Regions from separate parts of the Homo sapiens genome. Here all the other regions are linked to region 1. The links are contacts of gene promoters, found by promoter capture Hi-C in blood cells and fetal thymus (Javierre and others, 2016). All regions are on one chromosome and are shown on one strand. Each heading gives the region's core, a stretch centred on a gene start or on the middle of the fragment in contact. The rest is flanking DNA. Distances are from core to core; before and after follow the strand shown. Region 1 holds the start of SPAG16 (sperm associated antigen 16). Region 2 holds the start of RPE (ribulose-5-phosphate-3-epimerase). Region 3 has its middle 49 kb from the start of RPL37A. Region 4 has its middle 8.8 kb from the start of RPL37A. Region 5 overlaps RPL37A-DT (RPL37A divergent transcript). Region 6 overlaps SMARCAL1 (SNF2 related chromatin remodeling annealing helicase 1). Region 7 overlaps SMARCAL1 (SNF2 related chromatin remodeling annealing helicase 1).

Evidence for each region. Contacts are between HindIII fragments. The CHiCAGO score rates a contact against its expected background, and 5 or more counts as called.
Region 2: a contact is called between the fragment with the promoter of RPE here and the fragment with the promoter of SPAG16 in region 1, in 4 of 17 cell types (activated CD4 T cells, fetal thymus, total CD4 T cells and 1 more). The highest score is 7.7, in activated CD4 T cells.
Region 3: a contact is called between a fragment that was not itself captured here and the fragment with the promoter of SPAG16 in region 1, in 1 of 17 cell types (total CD4 T cells). The highest score is 5.0, in total CD4 T cells.
Region 4: a contact is called between a fragment that was not itself captured here and the fragment with the promoter of SPAG16 in region 1, in 7 of 17 cell types (naive CD8 T cells, non-activated CD4 T cells, total CD8 T cells and 4 more). The highest score is 15.5, in naive CD8 T cells.
Region 5: a fragment that was not itself captured here is called in contact with the fragment with the promoter of SPAG16 in region 1 in 4 of 17 cell types (non-activated CD4 T cells, total CD4 T cells, naive CD8 T cells and 1 more); the score reaches 9.7 in non-activated CD4 T cells.
Region 6: a fragment that was not itself captured here is called in contact with the fragment with the promoter of SPAG16 in region 1 in 1 of 17 cell types (naive CD4 T cells); the score reaches 5.0 in naive CD4 T cells.
Region 7: a contact is called between a fragment that was not itself captured here and the fragment with the promoter of SPAG16 in region 1, in 1 of 17 cell types (naive CD8 T cells). The highest score is 5.4, in naive CD8 T cells.

Annotation. Positions count from the first base shown.
Region 1 is chr2:213,282,609-213,286,412 of GRCh38, forward strand. It overlaps SPAG16 (sperm associated antigen 16), which reads left to right and starts at 1,856. Exons shown (of 16, transcript NM_024532.5): 1 at 1,856-2,011. The coding sequence starts at 1,876. It overlaps SPAG16-DT (SPAG16 divergent transcript), which reads right to left and starts at 1,601. Exons shown (of 3, transcript NR_161186.1): 1 at 1,425-1,601. RefSeq lists enhancers at 1,889-2,018, 2,059-2,108, 2,179-2,258. The HindIII fragment of the contact is 3,357 bases long and covers 1-3,275 here.
Region 2 is chr2:210,000,869-210,004,672 of GRCh38, forward strand. It overlaps RPE (ribulose-5-phosphate-3-epimerase), which reads left to right and starts at 1,770. Exons shown (of 6, transcript NM_199229.3): 1 at 1,770-1,915. The coding sequence starts at 1,794. RefSeq lists enhancers at 1,779-1,828, 1,869-2,038. The HindIII fragment of the contact is 5,690 bases long and covers 1-3,794 here.
Region 3 is chr2:216,546,159-216,549,962 of GRCh38, forward strand. No RefSeq gene overlaps it. Among named protein-coding and RNA genes, the nearest start is that of RPL37A, 49 kb to the left of the region's middle. The HindIII fragment of the contact is 5,361 bases long and covers 1-3,804 here.
Region 4 is chr2:216,505,692-216,509,495 of GRCh38, forward strand. No RefSeq gene overlaps it. Among named protein-coding and RNA genes, the nearest start is that of RPL37A, 8.8 kb to the left of the region's middle. The HindIII fragment of the contact is 5,377 bases long and covers 1-3,804 here.
Region 5 is chr2:216,489,417-216,493,220 of GRCh38, forward strand. The region is part of intron 1 of RPL37A-DT (RPL37A divergent transcript); the gene reads right to left. Among named protein-coding and RNA genes, the nearest start is that of RPL37A-DT, 7.4 kb to the right of the region's middle. RefSeq lists an enhancer at 3,151-3,210. The HindIII fragment of the contact is 878 bases long and covers 1,478-2,355 here.
Region 6 is chr2:216,444,577-216,448,380 of GRCh38, forward strand. SMARCAL1 (SNF2 related chromatin remodeling annealing helicase 1) reads left to right here. Exons shown (of 18, transcript NM_014140.4): 11 at 2,442-2,582. Among named protein-coding and RNA genes, the nearest start is that of SMARCAL1-AS1, 34 kb to the left of the region's middle. The HindIII fragment of the contact is 4,716 bases long and covers 1-3,804 here.
Region 7 is chr2:216,423,938-216,427,741 of GRCh38, forward strand. All of the region lies in intron 6 of SMARCAL1 (SNF2 related chromatin remodeling annealing helicase 1), which reads left to right. Among named protein-coding and RNA genes, the nearest start is that of SMARCAL1-AS1, 13 kb to the left of the region's middle. The HindIII fragment of the contact is 3,251 bases long and covers 1-3,039 here.

The DNA.
Region 1 (3,804 bases), core at 606-3,105:
TGAGTACTCAGGAAATGTCTGATGTGAGAAGTCAAGGACAAAGAGTAGGGTAGTAAAAGAATAGGTACCAGGAATGAATTACCCGACTATTATATCTGTGACCCTTGATTATTCTAAAAAATAAAACAATATCAAACACATTTAATAGAAATAACAGCTAACATTTCTTAGTGTCTTCTATGTTCCCAGTAAGTTCTTAATGCTTTTTGTTGCTTTACCCCTTGCAACAGCACTTTGAGGTAGGTAATATTGTTGTCTTTGTTCTACAAATGATGAAACTGGGGCCTAGAGGCATTAAGTAGTAGTTTGCCCAATGTGTCATAGCTAGTAAGTGATGGAAGCAGGCTCTGAAAGCTGTCTCTCTGGCTCTGACACACGTACTCTCAAACACCTCCTTAGGAAGTTACTGCTACCTTTTGGTAATAAATGGGAGCTTTTATAGGATCACTGGCTTCCAGTTTTCACCAAGAAATGTAGAATGAAAAATAATACCATTTGCCCTAGCAATCCCATTACTGGGTATATACCCAAAGAAACAGAAATTGTTCTACCATAAAAACACATGTACATGCGTGTTCATTGATATTCATGATAAAGACATGGATTCAACCTAAATGCCCATCAACGGACTGGATAAAGAAAATGTGGTACACATATACCATGGAATACTATGCAGCCACAGAAGAATGAGATCATGTCCTCTCAGGGACATGAATGCAGCTGGAGGCCATTATCCTTAGCAAACTAATGCAGGAACAGAAAACCAAATACTGCATGTTCTTAGTTGTAAGTGGGAGCTAAATAATGAGAACAAATGGACACAAAGAAGGAACAACAGACACTGGGGCCTACTTGAGGAGGAGAGTGGGAGGAGGGAGAAGATCAGAAAAAATAACTATTGGGTACTACACTTAGTACCTGGGTGACGAAATAAGTTATATACCAAACCCCTGCGACATGAGCTTACCTGCACTTGTACCCCTGAACCTAAAATAAAAGTTAAGGGAAAAAAAAATATTTGCAAAGAAAAGGGCCTTGAATTTGCTTCTGATACATACGCGATATAACCTGAGGAAGATCCTCTCAGCAATAAGACTATACATGATGGGGCAAGTGTCAACTGCATACATTTGTCAGGACCAAATTTGTAGCTCATAATTTTTATGCAACTGTTTTTACCTTGGCGAGAATCAATGCTACAAATACTATTCCAAGTCTTAGTATATGGAACCAAACTCAAAACAGATGTCCAGCTAAATGCATTAAAGATCACAAGAAAGGAATTGACAAAGCTGAACACCATAGTTCTTCATTGCTAAGCATCTGAGGAGCGTCTGGTAGCTCCCCTGGGTCAGTCTTTCTATTATGATTTCTAGAACTTTATTTTTTCATTTTTTAAAAAATTCCAGGTGTTGAGAACTCACCTTTTCTAGTAGTTTTCCCTGGGAACACTTGGGGATCTACAAACATCTGAAATTGGAGGATGCTAATGGGCAAGAATCAAGAGAAAGGTAATTCAGAGACGACAACGAAGTGGGAAAGAAATTACAGGGTCAAAGCGAAAGAAAACCAAGCTGCTTGGGTAGGAAGGTGCAATGCAAGCCAATTGTTTACTGTATCTTGTCCGCTCCCAGAGCTGCGCCCGAGCTCTCGCGTTAACTAGGCAACATCGTTGCCACGGTAACTGGGAGGCGCGGGAGGGCGACAGCTCCCTGGACTCCCGGTAACCCTTACGTGCCCGGGGCTGGTCCGTGGGGCGGGGTGAGAGATGCCGGAATCTCGCGAGAGCTCCCGGGGGCCGTTGGGTAGCGTCTTCGCTGTTGCCCTTAGGGACGGCTGTGGGCCTGCTGGGGGTGGGGGCCCGAAGCGCCAGAGATGGCTGCTCAGCGAGGGATGCCCAGCTCCGCCGTGAGGGTCCTGGAAGAGGCGTTGGGCATGGGTTTGACGGCAGCCGGGGACGCGAGGGACACGGCGGACGCGGTGGCGGCTGAGGGCGCCTACTACCTGGAACGTATCCTTCCCGTGGAGGCGCGGCCCGCTGCGCTGGCGGGTAATGGGTGTTGGGACGAAGGCGAGGGCCTCCCACTGGCGGCGCCTTTTGAGCCTTGGGGCCACTCCGGAGGAGCCTCTGTTGGACTTCAAGGTGCTGTTTTTGCCACCACAGTCTTCCTGAGAGCCACTCACTGAATTTCTCGCCCTTAGTAGCCCAGGGTGTCCTGTACCTGTTAGAAGAGTTGGGAGACCTTCCAAGGCCTCATACTTAGTAACCACTCAGTACATTTTGGATGGAGGGTTGCTTTTTATGTTAAGACAGCACAACAAATTGCTTCAACCCTCCTTTCAAATAATGGGTTTCCTAAATAAGCCCTCAATCTTTCAGAAAGCCGTCCCAATAAATTCAACGGAGGAACGTTAGGAGACTAGGGAAAGACCTCTGCCATTGGACTTTAAGGAGCTGAAGCTCAGAATACCCAACCCACGATCCTGTTCGATGGTCCAGTTAATGCTTAAATGCTTAGTTTTGATAGCATTATCTTCCTGAGTAGTTCCAAGTTTGACTACTTAATAATAAATACTAATAGTATAGTTGCTTTTTTTTCTTGAGCAAATAAATAATGATCTGGTGAGCTACACAGCTCAGAGATATTAGGAATAAAGCAGATGGTGATTAGCGATTTTTATCGGAAGTACCAGAAAAATTGAATAACAATGTGTGGATAATTAGGTCCACTATTTCTTGTGTAAGGCTTTAGAACTTCTTTCCTCTAGTTATATAGATTAATTCCTACTAGGGAGACGGGGAGGGTTCATGAGAAAAAGACATGTAACTCCTTTATTCAGGGAGGTAAGAAAGAGATGATTATCTGTTCAGTTCTTAAAGATACCAAGGAAACTCCAAAATCTGCCAAATCTTATTTGTTTGTCCAACTGTAATCCTCTCCAGGTTTAATTCAAGATTTCAGAAATCCAGCAATGATTCATTTCGTGAGCTTTGACAAGCCGATTAACCTGTCCTGACTCAGGCTCAGTACACATCCACACTACAGAGAGCTTTGAAGAATTTAGCTGAAAGATTAAAGAAAATATGTAGTATTTTATTGGGTGCAAAAACGACTTTTACAGGAATAGAAATTTGAATCGCTTGAAATGAATTTGAAAGAAATATATGGGTGCTTTAGTGTCATAAATGAGGTTTTATACTGTTTTCGTAGATGTAACAGGCAGTCTTTTCCAGTGATATTCCTCTTTAACAACGATTTTCATAATTCTTCCTAAGCTTATCTATATCCAGTGCCCTTGCTACTGAATGGTAACCAGGCATCTTGTAATTTTGTTTGCATTAAAATTATTTCCGTGAACACATAGTTTAATTGTTAACATGAGATTGACACAATGAGGTAACTTTTTGCAAACATCTTTGTGAAATAAATGGTAGGAGTCTAACATAACACAACTTTCAGCAATGAAAATCAGGTTTACTTAATGTGCAGGGAGATCACTGAGTCACACCTGCCAAGATGTAGCAGTTTGCAAACCTGTCTTACAAAGACTTTTTCAAATAATCACACTTATTTGAACTTTAACACATATAAGCAACTGTAACTTTTTAGGATTTTACTAACCGTTGTGTGAATTATCCAACCCATTTGCTTTTCTTCTTTCTTTGGTTGACTGACTGCTATTTTGTATTTTAACCAAATGGTAGTCAGGGGATACACAGTTAAACATTTAACCAGTTTATTTTGCTATATTCCATGCTGAGGGAAGAGGTTTAGTCATTTCAACTCTCAGTTGAAATGAAGT
Region 2 (3,804 bases), core at 520-3,019, 3.3 Mb before region 1:
GCGGGGCCGCAGAGCCCACGCCCACCTCGAACTCGCGCTGGCCCACAAGTGCCTTGCAGTCCCAGTTCCCGCCTGTGCCTCTCCCTGCATACCTCCCCACAAGCTGAGGGAGCCAGCTCCGGCCTTGGCCAGCCCAGACGGACTCCCACAGTGCAGCGGTGGGCTGAAAGGCTCCTCAAGCGCGGCCAGAGTGGGTGCCAAGGCCAAGAAGGCACCGAGAGTGAGCGAGGGCTGCCAGCACGCTGTCACCTCTCAGTCCAAGTTACCACTTCCGTCTTTTACACAGAGTACAAGTGCTCTATTCTGACCCCTTAAGGATTGCTCTTGCTAAGTCCATTTATCCCCGCCAAGTGGTTTTACTTCTGTCTCTTTTCCTGACCCTAGGCACATTTAGCATCAGGATACTCATCCATTTCTGAACTGTGTGTGAACAGCACACAAACCTATCACAATTTGTGAATGAGCATTGGAGAGGTGTAGGGGCCAAGGGAAAACTTTCCCTTCACCCTCCAAAGGTTTGCTGAAAATCACTGACAGAAAGAAGATTAACAGGAGAAAAGGCATAAAAACTTATTTGATTATAGTTTTACCTGACACAGGAGCCTTCAGAATGAAGACCCAAAGGTACAGGGGTGATTACCCATTTTTATACTTAGGTTCAACAAAGTATAGACAGCCATGTAGAAATACGATTGGACAAAATAGGCGATCTAATGCTAATAGACTGACCTGGCCTTGGCCAGTCTAGTTTAGATTCCTGGCCTCTCTGTGCAGCATTCCCTCCTCCTGGATATGGGATAGAACCTTCTCTAGAAGAGGAGTTTTATAACCTACAGTTGAGATGGGTCAAATAATTTATGGCCAGTTTTTACACAGAAAGGTGGAGGAAAGTTAGAGTAATGCTTTTGGGTTTTGTGTCTGGCTTCAGGGAAAGGGGGTTCCGGTTTCAATGACTCTTCTTAGGGAAGATGGGCTCCAGTTTCTATGACCTGCCTCCTAGAATGAGACTGAGAAGAGAGCAGGGCAGGAAGTCAGAGAAACACTGTTGCGTCTGAGGCCTTCACTTTGGGCTATCATTTTCTGAGCCTCAACAGAGGGAAAAACAAAAAAGGTAAGGAGGAACTGCAAAGGCAGAAAAAGAGGGTAATATAATAATAACTACCATTTTGTACTGAGCACCAGGCATCCTGCTGGGCGCATTACCTGGCTTCACTCATTTAATACAACCCTAAAGCTGGGCACTGTCTTTACAGATGAGAAAACCGAAGTTAAGAAGTGATTTGCCAGGTCACCCAGCTAGTATCTGGCAGAGCCAGGGTTCCTCCAGCTCAAAAGAAGAGCTCTAGGAGAAATACGAGGAAGAAAGGTTTTTAATTGTTGTTTTAAAGGGCCAGCATAGGCGCTGGAGAGGAAAGAAAGGCATATGCAAAGGGTGGAGAAACAAAAAGTGATGTTAAGTCAAGAGCCGAGGAGAGGGAACTGCAGGAGAAGCAAAGTGAAAAAAGGTTAAGAAACGCCTTGAGTACTGCGAGGACGTTAAGATCCAAACAGCACAAGAAGGAAGGTCAAAATCAGGTGTACGAGGCCCGTGTGCCCCGCCCCGCCCCAGGCGGACGGCTGACAGCGCCCCACCCCAGGAGGAGGCGGGACTTCCTCACCGCAGAGTGGCTGCTTCCGGTAGAATCCGGAAGCCTGTACGGAGAAGGGGCGGGGCCAAAACTGCGCGCCCAATCGGGGTGACGCTCTAGCCTTGCCGGGGACTCGTGGGTAACTTGCTTTTGGGAGCCAGCGGTATGGCGTCGGGCTGCAAGATTGGCCCGTCCATCCTCAACAGCGACCTGGCCAATTTAGGGGCCGAGTGCCTCCGGATGCTAGACTCTGGGGCCGATTATCTGCACCTGGACGTAATGGACGGGTAACTCCTCCGGGCTCCGGTCGGGCTTGCCGCGCGGCGGGGCGGATCAGTGCACCTTTATTGACTGCTTGTTGGATGTACCGCGTCCCTGTACCACCGAGCGCCTCACTCTGAACGCGATGCTAGAAGGGGTGTGGGGTAGGAGCCCTGGAGGCTCTAGCAGGAGCAGAACCGACGCGGTATCCTGGGTTGCGGCCGGGTCCCAAACCTCAGTTCCTCCCCTCCCCCCACGTAACGTGTGGTCTTCCATCACTTAGGACCCGGAAGCGACCTAAATCTTTAGGACATTTCTTCACTTTCAGCTAGAGAAACTGAGGCCCAAGGGGAGAAGCATGACTTGCCCAAGCTCATATAGCTAGTTAGTGGCAAAGCTGGGGAAACAGACTTCTCTAACGATTTAAGTTGGCACCTGCGGTTAGGTTCCCGAGTTCTGCCACTTGCTGGGTTACCTTGGACAAGCCACTAACCTCATTGAGCTTCAGTTTCATAATTTGAAAAATGGAACTACTAACAGAACCTACCGCTTAGGCATCTTGGAAGATGAAATGAGCGAGTACATGAGAAGTTTACAGTGCCTGGCGTATATTAAGTTCTCTATAATTGTTAATTACATCATTATTACAATTCTGATTTTCCTGTCTATTTTCTCTTCAGGCACCCTGCTCTTCAGGGAGGTCAGTTTTTTGTAAGTAATTTTTAAGCACCGTAGTTACAGCACATAATATTGTTTGGAGTCAGGATATTAGTTTCTGAAGTTGGTTACAGAATGAGGAAACAACCCCAGAGAAAGCAGTAAGACTCCCTCAAGATTACAGAAGATTGTGACAGACTTGCAACTTGGCTCTTCCTAGGTTTGCCAAGTAGTTCTCTGAGCCCCACTGTTAACTGACTATAAAAATCATAAATACCATTATCTTGAGTGGGGATGGAAAAATAAATTTATTTTAAATAGGTAAAAACCCTGTGTTCCCTCATTCAGTTTGCAAATTGGTGTTATTTTCTAAAGGTGATGATTTCCTTTTCTTTTTAATGTTAATCTGGCTTTGAAGAGTTTTATCTTCCATTGCTCTATGTGGTTAAATGTATTGTTTCTCTTTGGCATTTTACCCAGTTACCTTAGGAGTCCACCCAACTGATAATGACAAAACTTTGACCATAGAGTACTAAAAATAATAGGCCAAATGTGTAAAAAGTTTAGTAAATATTACCTCTCACAAAGGTTGGCTTTTAATTGGCCATTATATGTAATTATACTTATATACTTTATTTTTGACATCTTTGCTTGAAAGCCCTAAACTGTCACAGGTAATAATACCCTGAGTGTCTACCTCAAAGGTAAGTAGCTACATTTTTGTGCCTGAGAAAATACCTAGAGGGTCACAGGATGGAACAGCTATGTGTATATTTGTGAGTCTATTTGAGCAATTTGGTTTTAATTAAACTATGTTTGAGTAAGTTAATGGTTGGGGAAAGTAATTGTTTCGGTTCACCAGTCAGGATTATTAATGATAACCATAGTAGCAATGTTTATGAGCACTTGACTGTTTCTGTTCTGGAGTTTTTTTGTGAATTAACTCAAACAACCGTTTGAAATTGGTGGTGTTATTACCACCAGCATTTGACAGCGAGGAATTGGGCACAGAGAGGTTAAGTCATCTGCCAGTGGTCTCATAACTAGGAAATGGTGGAGCCAGGGTTGGAAGCAATGCAACAGCTTGTGTTGTCTCAAATGAAATGCTTTCTGTGGTTCCTAGGCTTACAGGGAATGACTAAGACATTGTTTGGCCTCAAAAAAGCAACTAATAATTTGTGTATTTATTTCTGTTAACTGTATACTTATTTTTGTTAACTTATTTCATGTCTCTCCTGCTACCCTATAAGCTTCCTGA
Region 3 (3,804 bases), core at 727-3,226, 3.3 Mb after region 1:
TTTATTAACATATTTAATCCCTAAGACAACCCTATAAAGTAAGTATTAATAGATACTTTTTACTATGAAGAAAATGAGGCATGTGGAGACCAAGTCATGTGAGCAAGGTCTAACAAGGAACAAGTTATGACACTGGGATTGAGATTGGGAAGAACAGCTGCAAGACCCTTGTTCTTAACCCCCAGCTAGCCTGCTTCTTGAAATGATTAGAAATTAACACAACGGTCACCCTGAGCGTGTTCATCATAGTGTGATAATAACAGGAAACAATCTAAATGCTTAACAGCTGGAGATGGGCTAAATAAAATGACTTCCAAATGAGGGCATGCTATATAGATGTTAACAATCACATTGTAAAAGAACATGCAATGACATGGGAAAAAGTTGATGATACATTTTTAAGTGGGAAAAGCTGTTTTCCATATTTGGAAAAGCCCACATATGAAAAAAAAGAGAGATTTGTTATTATTCATACGTGCATTCTGCACCGGACTGTCTGCACCCCCGCCAGGTACCCCCTCCCACTCTCACCCTGCCCAGCACTGGAGCCCATCCTCATACCCCAGTCAATTCAGGGCAGTTGTCCCTATGTCTCTGGATTGAAGTGCTGCATATTTTAACAAAGAAAAGATAACTAGGCTGCAGGGTGGAATTCTATGCCCAAAGCGTCATTGTGTTTCTCCTCAAGTCATTCCAGGAGTACTTTCTGGATAAGACCGATTCTTAGGGAGTGTTGACTATTGGAAACAGTTGGGTAAAGCTCATAGGAAGAATATTCCGGATACTTGCTGCCACTTAAGAGTAGGTATGGCGGAGAGGATGGGTCCCCCAAATGTGTGGGATTCTGGAAAGTGCCTGCAGGGAGGTTGTCCTGCTCCTTGGACATGGAAGGTAGGCCAGCACCCCTGCCCCCTGGGGTCACCAGTTTTACATTGCTAGCAGTTAAGCCCCAGGATGATTCAGAAGCCCCACTGAGATCTTCTTGGCTTTCTGTCCTGTGCTTCACCCCAGCTCTCTATCCATGTTCAGGCAAAGCCCAGAGCTGACTGCTTAGAAAAATATTTAATTGAGATTCCTCCTACAGTGCCTATTTCTGTCTCGATAAGGCCTTGGCATGCCATGGGTGGCTAAATATATTGGCTGTTTCCTCTCCAATGCCAACCTAGTTTTTTAAATGTTCCCAAGTGTGTCTGCCCAGCTTTCCCCTGAGAGAGAATTTACAGCATTAGCCCTCTGTGACCTAGAAGAAAAAACAAAACAAAACATAGAAGATGTTAACTTACTTACAGAAGAGAAACCAGGAAATTATACATTTGTGCAGAAGTGTCTTCATTCATGCATTCATTCATTCATTCATTCAGGTCTCTCAAACTCCTCCTGAGTTACTGGCACTGTGCTTAAACATGGGCCACATAGATTGATGGAATTAGACATGATCCCTGTCCTCAAGGTGTTCATAGTCTAGATCTACCTGCAGTACTAAGTGTTAAGTATGGAAGATGCACAAAACAGAGCTGCGAGAAGGGTCTGCAGTGGCCTAGAGGAGGATACTCAGGGAATATTTTCCTAAATAGCAGCATCTCTACCTGTTCTAGTACTTAGGAATTGAGAGAATGGGGAAAGCTAAATAAAGAAATAGCAAGAATATAAAGGCAGATGCCATTTATGAGCATGTTACGTTAGTTTGGGGGCAACAGCTTGGGCATTTTTCCTAGTAGAATTCTTCTGTTGGATGTGATATATGATTCTAAAGTCTTAAGTGCAATTAGTTTTTCTTCTGTATGCTTTTTTTTAAAAATAAAATTTACTAGTGCAGACAAGTGTTTCATAAACATTTTTAGAGTCATAGAACTCTTTTTGCAAACAAAACATCCCAATATTTAAGACCAATAACATCAGAGATGCTGTGGTTGAGGCAGGGGTGGGAGATGCGGAACCAGTTCTGGCCTCCTCCAATCTCTGACCAAGACACCCCAGTGGGATTCCAGGGCTCACTGAGACTGCAGTTGAAACCTACATGTTGAGATGGTGCTTCACACTTCCCAGGCTTTAAGCTAGCACCTCAGTGATCTCTCTTCACCTCCCTTTGGGCCTGTGACTGTTTCCTGCCTCCAGGAGGAGTCTGCAGTTGCTGCTTGATAGCTCTGATGGAGGCTTGTAGCAGGTGGTCTTGGAATGCTTGGGATCACCAAGCCTTGGGAGTAGTCAAGTCGTGGTTCCTTTGATGGAAAAAAGTGGGCTATCATCTGAAAGCAGGAGTGTTGGCAGCCAAGAGGATGAGCACAGTCCGGTGGCACATTACAAATGACTCTGGCCCCATTACTCATTAGGTCCCCCTGGAAGATGTTCTAGGGTGAACAGTCCTCATTTTCCCATCTCCATGGCTGGATAACCTCTCAGTTCATAGATCCCTGCAGACACTTCCTTTCAACATGCCAAGGCCTTTAACATCTCAAATGGGCTTTACTCTTTTCAATGTCAAGTAAGGCAAAGCAGCGAATGGTCTTTCCATTTTATAGGTGGGGAAACTGAGGCCTAGTGTAGTTGGCTCTTTCACAAAAGAATACCGAGACTCACTGTTCAGACTGTGATTGTTCTCTCACACTTTCTCATACTCCTGAGAAGTTCTTTCTGTTCTCCAGCTTTTATCCATTTCATTGATGTAAACCATTTCCTCTGTGTTTGTTTCTTCAAATTGTCCAGAAAAATGTGAAGTTGGACTTCTTTCCCTTCTTAACATTGCATAGAAGGCAGTGGAAGGCAGGGGGTCTGAATGAATGACCCACAGGAGTTGTGGTGGATTACCATCTCTGTTAAAAACAATTCTGCTTTGGTAATCTTGGCAGACGGCTGAACAGTGGACATGATGTTCTTAGAGGGAGGGTGATTTCAGTCCTGGGGGTTCTGTAATTCCCCATATCTTAACATAGGGGTTGGACACAAGGCTTTCCTTTGGGTCTGGGCTCAGCCTTTTCTAGCAGCTTTGCCACTGGTCTGGAACCTTTTAGGGCATTCCAAACCCCCACACCTCTCCCCCCGCCATGGGGCTGGCCTGCAGTCAAGCATCTTCACACTCTGCCGCTTCCATCTGGAACTCCCTTTCTCGATTCCTGATGTTGGCTGCCTCGGGGCCTGCTTGCTATTCTGGTGCCCAGAAGCCAACACAACTTTGCCAGCCAAAGCCATGCTGAACTGCATCAGCAGAGAAGGGTGGGCTTCCTTGGAGTCAGAATGCATGCGCAGGAGGACCCATCCATGGTACCTATGACGATTTATCAAAGAGTTCCTTAAAGAAAGTGAAGAGACGAATCACAGAAGATATTTGGAATATACATAATCCAAGAACAGTATTCTTAAGAGCATCTAAAGAATATCTCCAAGTTACCTTTGGGCCCAATAATTTTAATATTCTCTAAGGTATTGACTCCATCTAAGACATGAGACTTTGCCTGGTTTGGAGTCAGATCCTTTCTAGAAACTCTTATTCTCCTTCAAAAAAGGTGGGAGAACCTGAACACAACATTCGGGAACCACTAACTGATGGCTTCAGGAATCCAACTAACACTCAGGAAACACAGGGGTCGAACACACCTCTGGCTTCCTCGGGACAGCTTGCATAATCTCCTCCTTCCAGGCACACCTAGCTATGAATTCAGCTGAGTTTTTAAGAAACATGAATCTGGAATACAGTGAGAGGAGTGGGTATAATGGAATAGAAGGGGAAGCAGGCCCTCCCGCTAAGGGGTACACACTCTCCAGAGGACACACACACGCAGCGCTCTTGTTCAGGCATCTCACATAAAC
Region 4 (3,804 bases), core at 480-2,979, 3.2 Mb after region 1:
GAAGGGAGACAACAGGGTTCAGGCCAAGGAAGCCTTTCTGTTTTTGGCCCAAGGAGCGTCAATAAGATCTTTGAAAATACTTTGAAGTCATTTTGTGTGTGTGTATGTGCATACACACCTGATTTGTTTTATTTTTTATTTTTATTTTTTGAGTTAGGGTCTGGCTCTGTCGTCCAGGCTAGAGTGCAGTGGTGTGGTCTCAGCTCACTGCAACCTCTGCCTCCCAGGCTCAAGCCGTCCTCCCACCTCATCCTCCCCAGTAGCTGGGACTACAGGTGTGCACCACCTCGCTTGGCTACCTTTTGTATTTTTCATAGAGACATGGTTTCACCATGTTACCCATGCTGGTCTCAGACTCCTGAGCTCAAGCAATCCACCTGCCACAGCCTCCCATAGTACTGAGATTACTGGCATGAGCCACCGTGCCCAGAATATGAAACACTTTTGAGGTTCAAATCTCTTTGGAATCTTAGGATATTCCTTGTAAGAGGAAGGCTTATTTTCCTCTTTTCCATAGGATCTGCCTTTCCTGTTTATATTGTCTATGGGAAATTGTTGTATGGGCCTGTTTGTCATGGGTTAAATTGTAGCACATTTGTGCTAAGGATCAAATAATACCCTATTTTCTCAGGGGCTTCTCTTAAGTATTTTAGTGTAATTTTTGATTACTTAGTCTCTGGCTTACTTCAGGCTGTAGAGAAAATGAGATGTATTGGCTGCATTTGCACAGGAACCATAAAAGGATTGTTCCAAGCACTATGGGAAAAGGATGGTGTCATTTGCTTAGAGGGCATTGACTGGAGATAGAAAAAGCCATTCTGAAAAAACGGAAACCACAAGAACTGAGGACAGGTTTAATTCCTGGTGGCTGAGAGCTGGTTCCTGTAGCTTCTCTGTTCTGCTTTCCCATTGAGTTGGCTGCACCCAGTCTTTCCAGATACAGAAGGTTGGGACCTGCAGTGACTGGGAGAATGCTGTAAGCAGCAAGATGCCAACATCACTTCCATCTTAGGCCCATTTACAAGAGCATTAGAAGAGCGAGTTTCTACCTCTGTGCCTCATGGTTCCTTCCAGGCAATAATCAGTGAAAAAAGTAGGAGACTGACCACATGGATCTACAGCTACATGGTTTATTGTCTACACCCACTAGACCAGAGTAAGCTGAAGTTTGGGGCATGCAAGTAAAAGGGAAACACTTTTTTTTTTTTTTTTTTTTTTTTTGAGATGGAGTCTCACTCTTGCCCAGGCTGGAGTGCAGTGGTGTGATCTTAGCTCGTTATAACCTCTGCCTCCTGGGTTCAAGTGATCCTCCTCAGCCTCCTGAGTAGCTGGGATTACAAGCATGTGGCACCACGCCCAGCTAAGTTTTGTGCAGAGACTGGGTTTCACCATCTTGGCCAGGCTGGTCTCGAACGCCTGACATAAAGCGAGTGGCCTCACAGGGTGTTAAGATTACAGGCATGAGCCACCACAGCCAGCCAATACTTTTATACACAACCGTATTGGTCCATTCTTGAATTGCTATAAAGAAATACCTGAGACTGGATAATTTATAAAGAGATTTAATTGCTTACAGTTCCACAGACTACACAGGATCATGGCTGGGGAGGCCTCAGGGAGCTTTTACTGTGGTAGGCAAAGCCAGAGCAGGAATTCACATGGCTGGAGCCTAGAGCAGGGGGAAGAGTAGGGACGGGGGAGTGGGTAGGAGGGGGTACCACACACTAAAAACAACCAGATCTTGTGAGAACTGCCACAAGAACAGCACTAGTGGGGTGGTGCTAAACCATGAGAAACTGTCCCCATGATCCATTTACCTTCCACCAGGCCCAACCTCCAACATTGGAGATTTCAATTGAACATCAGATTTGAGTGGGGACACAGATCCAAACCATATCAACAACTAAAGTTTCTTTTTATGATATTATTTTTGGCATACCCGAACTCCCAGACTCCCCAGCTATTTTCCTGGTTGGGTAATATATCAGTCAGTGTCGTAGCAGGGAACAGATGACACATTCAAATTACAAAAATACAAGGTATTTATAAAGACATTTACAAAAGTGTGTGCAGGATGTTGGAAAAACCATAGGAGATAGTAGAGTGGCCTGAAAGGGAGGAGAGTGAGTAGTTACTGGAAATTGTTAAGGAAAGTCCGGTGGAAAGGGTGACCTTAGAGTGATTCAACCAATGAAATACGGCCATGCAGAGAGTGACCCAAGGGGATGAATATCCCAGCCTCATTCTCCTTATCTGCTACTGTTCTCCAGTGACCAAGCCCAACCAGTAGGCAAAAGAACCCATTCACATAGTACATAGAGGTCAGCCTCCTGGAGCAGAGATCAAGATAGAGAAGAGAGGAGGATGGCACCAGAGAGACATGTGAAAAATGTCAAGCCTGCCCTCTGTTAGGACTCTACATTCTATTAAGATCAGAGGTTGATCTGTTGAAGATTTTAAACTTCAATAGGTTGTCATTGTGCAGTCCTTGTGGGTAGGGACTAGGTTTAGTTCTTTATGTCCTCTTGTATTAGCTACTGCTAAATCCAAACCACCTCAGAACTCAAGAACTGAAAATAATAAGCATTAATATTACTCAAAAGTCATTCTGATAATCTGGGTCATTCTGGGCTTGGCTTGCTCTTGCATCTGTGGTCAGCTGTTAGGTCAGTGGGGAACTGATTGGTCTAGCATGGCCTCACTCATATTTGGCTGATGGGTGGCATTTGGAGCAGTAAGTGTGCCTGGGTCATGTGTCTGTCAGCAGCTATCCTGGGTTGGCTCACAGGGCAGTGGCAGGGTAATTGAAGCTCACACATCATTACTTGTGCAGTATAGTACAAAGAAGTCAGTCTCAAGGCGAATCCAGATTTAAGGAGTAAGAAGATATACTCTATTTCTTGATGCAACAAGCTACAAATTACAAAGCATGTAGATACAGAATTATGGCCATTTTTGCAATCTACTCCCCATAATAGAGTCTGGGATAAAATGGGTCCTCTGTTATTTTATGATTTAATAAATGACAGTACTAGAAAGGAGATTTTAAATGTCCTGAAAAGGTCTGACCATTTTGTGGTCCCCATATCCTATTACAATTTACTTTTTTGGTGATTAATTTAGATGGGCTCTCACTCACCCAGGTTGGAGTGCAGCGGCATGATCTGGGCTCACAGCAACCTCTGCCTCCTAGGCTCGAGCGATCCTCCCACCTCAGCCTCCTGAGTAACTGAGACTATAGGCAGGTGCCACCATGCCCAGCTAATTTTTTTGTATTTTTTGTAGGGATGGGGTCTTGCCAGGTTGCCCAGGCTGATCTTGAACTCCTGGGCTCAAGTGATACACCTACCTTGGCCTCCTAAAGTACTGAGATTACAGGCATGAGCCACTGCCCCCAGCCTACTTATTTTTAAGTATTTGTAAAACTTTTATTATAATGTCTTAGGCATTCAGAGGAAGCACAATTGCTGGTACTACTGAAAGGGGTATGTTGAGCCATCTGTGTCATATTCCAACTTTTGTCTTGGCTCATTTCAATTTTATGGTCACAAGAATGTAAACTACTGTCTCTCCTCATTTTGCCTGTTACCTGGTAAATGTTTAGTGACTTGTTCATGTTCTCCGTTTAGTAACATCATACATCCTATTTCTGTTAGCTAGTCTTGATACTTTTCTGATGATCAGATTACCTACTCCTTTTGATACATGAAGTTTTGCGTATCCTTGGGCCAATCAACTCTCCATATTTTGCAGAATTGTGAGGATAGTCATTACCAGTCTCTGATTGAGAAGCAGCTTACAAAG
Region 5 (3,804 bases), core at 667-3,166, 3.2 Mb after region 1:
TTAAGTTAGACCATCCCATATGTACTCTGAAATTTGTTAAGAGTCACCTAACCAGTTCTGTATAATTCAGCAAAAGACACTTGGACTTATTTATATAGAGAGTGAATACCACTGGGTTTAAAGTGGTATTAATATTTCCACACTAACTCCTTTTCCTCCTTCATTTCACAGCACAGTCCAGACCCCCAGAACTGTGTTTTCTGGAAGCGTCAACTGAAATGAAGAAAATCTAGGCCCATCTCCTCCCACTCTTGTCCCTGCCATCAATTGTACCCTTACAGGATTTTACTAGAAGTCCCCTCTGGCCCATGGAGCTGGTCTCTGCCTTCCCTCACCAGGGTCACTAAGTGGTATCTTGTTTCCTGAGTGATCCTGGTTGATTTCTGCCTCTAGGGCTGGCATCAAGGAAACCTCTAAGAGGCAGCAAAGAATCCTGTTAGTCTTGATCCACTTGTGCTTGAATTAATCATGTCTTTTTCCTTCTTGGCTTCAGAGGAGCCTTTTTCTAGATCAGTGGGAGAGCTGAGAAATTGAGCAGGAGGTGTCATCCCCACACCACTGGCTCTGAGGTGTTGTCTTGTCTGTTCGTTCTCGTCTGTTAGAACCTCAACGCTTTTTGAAGTTCTATCCTCTTTTTTGCAAAGGGGAGAGAATGAAGTCCAACCTTATATTTACTCCATCCTCCCACTTCTCACCAAGTTCAGAATTATCAACATAAAAAGTGGCTCGGAAGTTTAAAGAGGGTTAATTGGAGAAGTCTCTTCTACCTGTGTTTTGTTTTGGTTTTGTGTTTTCCTGTGCAGTCTCAGTGAAGGAAATGAATTCCTGACCATAGCAGAAAGCATTAAGAAGCCTGTGAGTCACAGTCTTTTGGGCATTATGACAATCAACAGTTATCTGATTTTGCAAGATCCTCTGCACACATTTCTCTCCCACCCCCTATTCAACAGATTTTGAGGCTCTTTTTCTCTTTTTTAACTCCTTTTTTTGGGGGCAAAATATAATATACAGAACAGTTCATAAAACAATTTAGTTTAACAAAATATTTTAAAATACACATCCATGTAACCATGACCCCAAGGTTATGAAAATAGTATGTTGTGAGGCCGGGTGTGGTGGCTCACGCCTGTAATCCCAGCACTTTGGGAGGCCGAGGCAAGTGGATCACCTGAGGTCGGGAGTTCGAGACCAACCTGACCAACACGGTGAAACCCCATCTCCACTAAAAAAAAAAAAAAATACAAAAATTAGCTGGGTGTGGTGGTGCATGCCTATAGTCCCAGCTACTTGGGAGGCTGAGGCAGAAGAATCACTTGAACCCGGGAGGCAGAGGTTGCAGTGAGCCGAGATCGTGCCACTGCACTCTAGCCTGGGCGACAGGGCGAGACTGCCTGGGCAACAGAGCAAGACTCCGTCTCAAAAAAAAAAAAAAGAAAGAAAGAAAGAAAAAAAGAAAAAGAAAATAGTATGTTGCAGAAGCTTTTGTGTTTTGCCGTTAATGTTTAGATCTACAATCCACCTGCAGTTTATTTTTGTATATGGGGTGAGGTAAGGCCAAGGTTAATTTTTTCCATATGAATATGCAGTTAGCTCGGCACCACTTATGGAAAAGACGGTCCTTCCACCTACTGCTCTGCAGTGCCTTCTTTCCAATATTATGAACTGGATGTAAAAATACATCTAAGGCTGGGCGCAGTGGCTCACGCCTGTAATCCCAGCACTTTGGGAGGCCAAGGCGGCAGATGAACTGAGGTCAGGAGTTTGAGACCAGCCTGGCCAACATGGTGAAAACCCATCTCTACTAAACATGCAAAAAAATTAGCTGGGCATGGTGACGGGCGCCTGTAATCCCAGCTACTCAGGAGGCTGAGGCAGGAGAATTGCTTGAACCCGGGAGGCGGAGGTTGCAGTGAGCCGAGATCGTGACACTGTACTCCAACCTGGGCAACAGACAGAGACTCTGTCTAAAAAAAAAAATTCATCTAGAAAAGTATAAGCTCAAAAATAAGAGTCCTGCATTCTCCTCCCTCCCTCCCTCAGCCCTACCTCCTAGAAGTAATAACTAAATAATTTGAGATAAAGCCATTTGTAATTTATCTCTATGCATACAAATATATGTAAAATACACATAGAATCTGTTTTTACAAAAACTGTATCAAATTCTTCATACTGAAAATGACTCACTTCACATGATGTACTTGGCCATTGTTTCATATTGATCTACCCATTAAATTATGATTTATTTATTTATTTATTTATTTATTGAGACAGAGTCTGTCTCTGTCGCCCAGGCTTGAGTGCAATGGTGCGATCTCAGCTCATTGCAACCTCCGCCTCCTGCTACTCGTTAAATTAAGCTTAACCCAGTGCTGCCTTGTTACATATTTTAAAGTCCGCCTAAAGGTTTCTCTGTGCAGAGTGAACTATAACCTAACTAGATTGGTAAACAGACTGGGACCCACTCTTGTAACAAGTAGCCAAGTCTCAGGCAATTACCGCAGCCATATGTCAGCCAATCACAGGTGGCCAACCGTTCACACTGTGTTCAAATAAGGCAAATATGCAACCAATCCAGCTCTTTCTGTCCTCACTTCCCTTTTCTGTATGTTACTTTCTTTGTTCTGTCCATAAATGTGAACCAACCATGTGGCAACCCTGGAGCTGCTCCGGACCTCTTCTGGTTGTGGGGGCTGTCCAATTCACAAATCATTCTTTGCTTAATTAAACTCTGTTAAATTTAATTTGTTGAAAGTTTTCCTTTTAACATACCTTATCCCACTTAAGAGTTGCCAAGTAACTACTCCAGTCTTTATGTGTGCACTTCCTGTGTAAATGCTCTGTGACGGGTCCATTAATAACTAGAACGAGTTTAAATGGAATTTGAGGGGAGAAGGAGGAAAGGAAAGAGGGGTTGCCTGAGTCAATTTCCCACACTCTTATTCTTTCGGGGCATCCAGGACTGCCTTGGAGGGCCTCACCTTTCCTGCTGGGTCAGCTCTTGCCTGTGGCTCTGGCCTCACGGGACTCTCAACAATGCTGTGCAGGCCCCACTCTTGTCTGTGGCCCCCAGGGGCTTTGTGGAGAGCAGGCTCTCTTGAGGCATGAAGTGAAGGAACCACGCCCCAATAAACCCTTTCTGTCTCCAGCACAAGATGAATTTGGAATGATGCTTGCACCTCAGATTTCTTTCAAGAATAAAATGTTCCATATGCCCCAAGAGAACTGGTTAACAGCTACAAGAACTCCTCTCTGGAGGTGACTTTTAACTTATTTATTTTTCTAAAGGCAAAGAGTGAATGTTGAGGGCTCCTTAAGAGCAGAGGTGAGCCAGCAGTGATTTTTACTGAGTCTTTTATGGGGACACATTATAGTTAACATTCTCCACACCGGATGGTACTCTAATAGGGATGGAAATTTATGAGCCCACAGAAAAGACAAATTGAGACTTTAGGAGAGGGCCGATTCTCTGAAGTCACTCAGAGCTGATTTCATGAGTGCTATTTGTACATCCTCAAGCTTGCTATTTAAAGATAATTGTTCAGTTTTGACAAAATTGCTCTGAACATGAACAATTTCCTCCTATTATGGAGTGTCTCATTTTCAGCCGCTTACTGCATTCCTACTCATGCATTCCCTCTTCTCTTGCTCTCTCTCTCAGACCCCCCTGAAGGCCAGAGACGTAGGAGGCTCTGCAGCGGAGGGCGTGGGGGAGGCAGCACATTTGCTAAATGATGATCTGAATTAGGCTCTAGTGCCAGCCCAGGATGGCTCACCTCAGCTCTGCCTGGACTGCCCCAGCATGAA
Region 6 (3,804 bases), core at 457-2,956, 3.2 Mb after region 1:
GATCATGATCTCAGCTCACTGCAACCTCTGCCTCCCCTGTTCAAGTGATTCCCTGCGTCAGCCTCCTGAGTAGTGGGATTACAGGTGTGCAGCACTGCACCTGGCTAATTTTGTATTTTTAGTAGAGGCAGGGTTTCACCATGTTGGCCAGGTTGGTCTCGAACTCCTGACCTCAGGTGATCCGCCTGCCTCAGCCTCCCAAAATGCTGAGATTGCAGGCGTGAGCCATCATGCCCGGTCAACTCTTAATTTTAAAACTATGTATAGATTATCCACTTTCAATTACGACATTGAATTCTCTGTGGCGAATTATGTATACACGAACTCAGCCTATTCTGCAGGGTTTTCCCACCCCCAACCCACGAAGAAACTAAGCCTATCTTTGAGGGTCATCTGATCCCAACAGTGTCTGCACATGTGAATCATGTTATCTTTCTAACACCACACAGAAAGTATTTTTTTACATTGTTCTATCTTCGATTTCTTGGGTGTTGCTTTTCTCCCTTAGGTGGGGGAGTTCACTGTAAACTGTTCAATTTGGTGTTGATTTATGTAGTTTTATAGATTTCTGTTTTCCTAGATTTGGAAGTTTTCAGAAGTGGAGGGTGACATATGACACCTTTGCAGCTGGGCATGTGTTAAAAGCCCTTGTGGGTGATCGTGATGACATACACACATGTTGGGGCTGAGCTGGGAGCAGGCCAAATCACCCCATTACAGACGAGATGCCATTCTGGTTTCTTTTTCAAAGCTGGACTTTTTCTTTTTTTGTAATGCTGCCTCTGCCTTTTTGATGCCCACAAACACCCATTGGCAACGCTCCCATCACTCTCTAGTCTAGGGAGTGTATGGGAGAAGCGATTTAATACTAACTACATCCTATAAGTATCTGACAGAAGACCCTGGAGTTAATTTCCATCATCTGATTCATGAACTGTTTTTGCCCTGGCTCCATCCCCAGGCCAGCACAGTGACATGAAGAATAGGTTTGGGGTGATGGGGAGATTTTCTCTTTTTGATAAAACTTTTCATTTTCCCCTTTTTCATTGAAATGATCTTAAAGCCAAGGCAAGCGATGCTACCAACGTCAGCTCATTGTTATTTTAATGAGTCTGCATTAAACCGTGCAGGAAGTTAGAAGGCCTAGGTAATTGAACTGTGGAAAATTATAGCTGGAGACATTCATAGCTCTCCCATCATAATGGAATTAGATATTGGCGATTGCTGTGAGGGCACAAATGCGTTTAGATAATTGTGTATATTGTATATTTATAAAGAATGATTTTTCTTTTCACTGTTGCACCTTTATTTATTTATTTTTATGAGGCAGTGTATCCATCTGTAAACCTAATTTATTCTCCTAGGTGATTTATTACATGCAATTGCCTTGTATTACTGTCATTAACTCAAGGTTACAGTGGTTAACAAGCTGTTTCTAGACAACTGAGCTCCATGGTAGGGTCCGTTCCCAGAGCTGAAGTGAATTTTACGTCCAGTAATTTGTAGTGATTCTGTGTTCTAATACAGTAGGAAGAGTCTCTTTTTTTTTTTCTCACCCTCTTTCCCATCTTAATAATAGGAGGTGGGATCTTTGGGTCTGATGCCCATGGGTCAGGTTGGTGTCTGGGTAGTGAGGAACTTGGAATCTGTCATTGCTGTTGACCAACTATTTTTTCCCATCTTGCCCATGCTAAGCAGGCTGCTGCACATCTGGGCTGAGTTTAGGGAAAATGGAACCAGGTATCACCTATTAAGGTTCTTATTGTTAATAACTGCAAAATGAGCCTGAGTCAGGATCTGTAGGCTTGAAGCATTGTGAAGCTGAGTTAGTAAAGGCCTTATTTTCCTTTAAAGAAAGTCACATGGAGACATATACATTGGCAACCCCTGACACTTCCTCTTGGGAATGGGAGAGGGCTGATTGTAATTGTCATTATCTGAGTTCAACTTGCATGTCACAGATCCACTCTGGAGGAAGTTCAGACCTGCCACTGTCTTCTCCCACTTCCTGTCCAATGCTGGATTCTTTGAGTTTACTCTGTGTTCTCCAGGATACTAATTAGCTTCCTTGTGAATTTTTTGCAGCATACGGTGAACATTTATTGGTTACTTGGCGTCAGGCATATGCTACAGAAAATAAAGGTGAATACAGCCCAGTCCTTGATCTCAAGAGGCTTGCAGTCTAACAAGGGAGACAGAAAAGTTATAATTCAATGTAATATGTTAAGTACTAGGATAGAGCTCAGCAGAGGGCAGGCAGGGAGGATTTAAAGAAAAGGAGATGCCATCTAACTGCTTGCATTGGCAATGCCATTAGGTTCTCGCGACACGCACGCGGTCTTTTTCTGGGGGCATCCAGCTCCTCCCTCACTGGGGCATTTTGAACATTTCCTGTGTGCTCCTCCCTGTGTTCAGAGCACCTTTGGCTGTTTGTCTTTTAGGTTGCCAAGAGGGTGATCCTGTTGTCGGGCACACCAGCCATGTCCCGGCCCGCAGAGCTCTACACGCAGATCATCGCAGTCAAGCCAACTTTCTTCCCCCAGTTTCATGCCTTTGGACTTCGCTACTGTGATGCCAAACGGGTATGTATTATCTCTTCCCTCCCAGCCCACCCATTTCTCACCCTGATTTTGACACTTATCTTTCTCTTCCTTCTCTCTGGCCATGATATGGTCAGAAGAGCACTGGCCAGGGGAATGGATTTTAGTCTTTCTGTTTCTTACTATGGCCTTGGAATGACCTCAGGGGTAAGATGAAAATGGTCATCTTACCCTTTAAATCTAGTTTTAATGGTTATGGTTATCCGAAGTCATCGTTTTCCAGTAAGGGGACTAGTGGCTGATGTGTAGGTATGTGGAGCTCTGAGAGCCGGCTTCCCTCTTGCCCAGGGTCACAGCTCTGCATGAGGCACAGTGCTGGAGCTATAAAAGGAAAGTCCTTGTCAAGTGCTGGCCCTAGAGAAGATGCTGGCACTGAGGTGAGCTAGGAGTGAGGCTGAGGCCCCAGGCAGAGGGAAGAAGTAGGTGAGGGGGTAAGGGCTTCCTCCTGGCATGGGAGGAATATGAAGTAAAGGTGGGAAATTCCTCCCTGTGCAAAAAAAAAAGAAAAAAAAAGATAAAGGTAGATTGAGGAGCCTGATCCCAAACTGCCTTGGGTGGGCTCTGTGAGTGCAGTGCCAATGGCGCAGGCACCTCAGGACCTACAGTCGGCACTCCAGAAATGCTCTCCCAAAATGGCAGGGAAGCCCTGTAAACACCAATGCATTGCCATGGAACCCTTGTTTTTAAAACCACATTAATTCAGACCTTAGGGATTCTTGTTTTGTGATCAAGTCACAAAGGTACTGGCACTTTGGAGAAATAGCTGCAACTTACCCTACAAGCCATCTATGAGGGAAAAGCCTTGCTGTGCAAGTACATGATATAAATAAGAGTGTCTGCCTTATTTTTTAAATTTTTAAAAGAAGAAAAAAAGTTTTCAAGTACTTTAAAAATATCCACTTACATTCAAACGAAGTACTTATAATGGAAATTGTAGTCCTTAGCATAGTTAATTGCAAACCATTTTTAGCTGGTTATTGAGGCAGGAAATTTCCCAATTATTAAATGTATTTAAAAGCCGTACACTTCTTTAATCATATATTTAGTTCATTTTCCCTGTAGATCAATCCAGATTAGACTGATGCTATATAGTTTTCATGGTCCCTCAAAACTCTTCATGTATGATTTGGATTTCTGTCCTATTCGCAAACAGTCCACTTTCTAAAAAGGATCTTCTCTTTCTTGACTATATGGGCCCATGGCA
Region 7 (3,804 bases), core at 164-2,663, 3.1 Mb after region 1:
AAATCTTCCTGCTGTCATAGAAGTGCTAGAAGCATGGGTACATAGACTTTAGGAATCAGAAGTGAGCTAGGATTGCTTAGCTTAGGTGGAAGTGACCATAGATTACTTCTAAGAATAGGCTCTCAGTGTACTTCTAGAACTGGATGGGATGATCAAGAAAGATAGGAGAGTATCACTGGGAATGGACTTCATAATAGAGTTCTGTTTGGGGCAGAAGTCAAGGCCAGGGACTTAGGCATTTTAACAAGCACTTTACAGACTGACCAAGGAAAAGGGATATGTGTACAGATAGCATAAGTGCAAGAAGAGGAAGCCATTTTGGGTTTATCATTTTTCTTCTCTGTGTTTTGCTTAGATGGGGCAATAAATTCTAATATGCCTGGAAAAAGGAAATATGGTCATATCTCAGACTGTACCAGAATACCAGTCCCTTATCTATCTGGCTGTAACAATTCTGCATTGGGTTTGCAGCTAGCATGGCTTATGTTCCTCTGCTTTTCTCCTAATCCTGATGGCCTGTTGGGCCTCCCAAACCAAGGAAGGAGTCATTTGTGGGTACCAATCAGGCCAGGACAGACACGAGCCAACCCTGGGAGCTCTGAGTCATTGGCCATCTTCCCTGGCAGGCTAGGGCTTCAATGTGAGGGAAAAACTGGGTTCCTTCCTTTTGTCTCCTTCTTATGTGACTTACTATGTGACATTGGGTAAATAATTAAACATTCTGGGTCCCATTGTCCCTTTAGTAAAAAAAGCGGTGGTCTTTAATCTCTATCTGCTCTCCTGACATAGGAATTAAATATAAAGGAAGAGCCTTTGGTTCCTTGAGCAAAACTTGCTGTGAACTACATGATTACGTTTGAATATGAGATGGTAACTTAATAAATGCTGGCTGAAGCAGAAAGAATGGCTCACGGTGATCTTGAGACTCTCTGGCTGCTACTATTTGGAACTTGTGATTTAGAGGGAATTATTTGGCAAAATCTGAATTTTTTTTTCTTTTTGAGGCAGGGTCTCGCTGTCACCCAGGCTGGAGTGCAGTGGCATGATCTCAGCTCACTGCAACCTCTGCCTCCCAGGCTCAAGCGATTGTCCTGTTTCAGCCTCCCAAGTAGCTGTACACAGAATCCTTTTGGTGCCACTTTGCCAGCTGGGCTTGCCACTGGGCTTGCTTTGCCCACTCGACCTGGCAGGCTGCGCTCGGCTCACGCTACCAGTCCAGATTCCACACCCACTGAGGGCGAGCTAGGCATGGAGCAGCAGAGGGTTTGTGAGCAAGTGAGTGTAGAGTCTGGCCACAGCACATAGCCAGGTGCGCCAGCTGCTGCAGCAGAGCGGGCAGCTCCAGACTGTGGCACAGGCACCAGCTCTGTATGAGGCTGCAGCTGGACTAGGCATACCACAAGCAGCTTCTGCCTTGGGCACCAGCGGCTGGATGATGGGAATGTGCTGGTGCCTGAAAACTTGAAGACACCAGCAACCATGGAGCCCTAAGGGGGTGTTACAGCATGTTACAGCTCTGGCCGAGGGAGTCCCAAGGTCTGGGCTCCCAGAAAGGTTGCCACTCTTCACTCCTGTGGTTCGGCAGACAGGAGCATGTCACTGCCTGCAGCTTGGCGAGCAGACCAAGAATGTGTTATAGCCCTTTTCTCACCTGCCATTCAGCGGGTCCCAGATTCTTGTCCTGCGTCCAAGAAGAATGAGGTTACATGAACAACTGGAGAGTGAGCAAGGCAGAGAAGGGTTTTATTGAGCAACAGAACAGCTCTTAGTGGAGAGGGGACCCAAAGTGGGTAGTCCCAACATGTGGCTGAGTCCAGGGTTTTTATGGGCTCAGAATGGGGGTGTGTGTGCTGATTGGTCCATAGGCAGGCCTGGAAAAAGCACCATTCGATTGGCTAAAAGGCATTGAGGAAGTTCTTATTCTGGGTTGTGGACTCCACCTGGAACTGACAGCCTGGTTTTCAGGTTTCAGTCTGTCTTTGGCTTAAAGGTTGGGTTTCACTGTGGACCCACCCCTGTCTGCCTAGGAAGTTGTCTGCCTCCTGCTGTTATCAGCTGGAATTATAGGCGCATATCCCCATGGCCGGCTAATTTTTGTATTTTTAGTAGAGATGGGGTTTTGCCATGTTGGCCAGGCTGGTCTTGAACTCCTGGCCTCAAGTGATCCTCCCACCTTGGCCTCCCAAAGTGCTGGGATTACAGGCGTGAGCCACCGTGCCCAGCCACAAAAGCTGAATTTTTTAAGAAAAATAGAAGTGAGTTCTTTCCTTCTCGCTTTTGTCTTTCAACCAGGAAACACACACATGTTAGCTATAAAGTCTTTGACTTTTATGGAATGACAAAAAGCAGGACATTTACAGCATTAGTAGATAAATGTAGTGTTGAAAAACCATGACTTGTGACTCACATAGCATTGTAGAGTGGTTCCTGATCTTTTGCAGACAACAGACTCCTTGAAATATCTGATGAAAAGAATGGATTCTTCACCCAGAAAAAAATGCACATAATGGCCACAAATAAGATTTTGCACTTGATAAAGATGATTCCATAGATCCTGAGTGAAGATTCTAGATTTAGAGTTTTTACCTGCTATCTCATCATGACAGTGTCTCACGGAAGATAAGACTGAGAAAAGGTTGGGCCCAGAGAAGGGAAACAGTGGCTTTCCTTACTGGGAGCATTGCAAGGTTACAGTAAAGTCAGTGACAGAAATAAGAGTAAAATTGCCATCTGCCTTTGTAAAATGACCCATTATGGAATTTAGAAGCCAGCTAAACTAAGAAGCTGGGAGTGGAAGCAGTGAGAATAGAGCCCAGTTCCAATTTAGTTCTGATTTCTCCGCCAGTACTGTGAACCTGGGGAATGCGCACCTCCTTCCTCACCCCATGCTGTCCTTCCTCATGAGTGAAATTAGATCGATGACCCTGAGTTAGTGAACGTGTGCATAGGAAACTGATGAAGAAATGACAATAAGACCTGAGTACGTGAATGCTCATTGGTGAAGCAGTGGGAGTTATTTTCTTTAGTAAGGAGAATCTAAGCTTTCCTCCTCTCTCTTTTCTAAGTGACTCAGGCCTTTTGCCCCCAGTGAAATTGGCATAAGTCCTTTTGTTTTCCCCTTGCTGTCAGTCCAGAAGGGTTCTCAACAATCTTGTCTTGTTAGCTGCTATTTGAAAACATTAGCATCTCTGCTATGTGGCTAGTAGCATTCTGGCAAAGAGCTATTTTACAGAAATGACTTCTAGATGACTCACGAAGCCGACAACACGTCTGTCATCTCCTAGTACCAGGGAAAGGACAGTAGAGACAGTCGTTGTCAGGGAATGGTGTCTTTCTCAGGAACACTGAGATGGCTGAACTAGCAGCATAGGATTTTGGAGACAGTAGTTGGTAGGAGACAGAGTAGATGTTGGTTTTATTCCTCTTAAATGGCCGAAGGAACATAACGCTTACAAAGCCCTGCCTTTTCTACCAGCCAGTTCATCAGCCCTTTCTTAGCTTTCATCAGGTATTTGAGTTCTGAAGATCACTAGAATTAAAATGAAAATGGTTTCTGAAAGCACAAGGAGTGCTCAGCCTCCTGAAGTGTGTAGAAATCAACATACTCAGATTTAATTTGGAGGTATAAAATGTATTTCTGCATCAATATGGACAGTCTGTTTTGTATTAATGCCATCAACCTTCCCTAATTTCTTCTCATGGTGATTATTTTTGTGGAAACTATTTCCAGAAATAACTGGTACTTATATTTAGTGGAGGAGAGAAATGGACTTAAATATATTGAAAATACAAAGCAATTGGAGG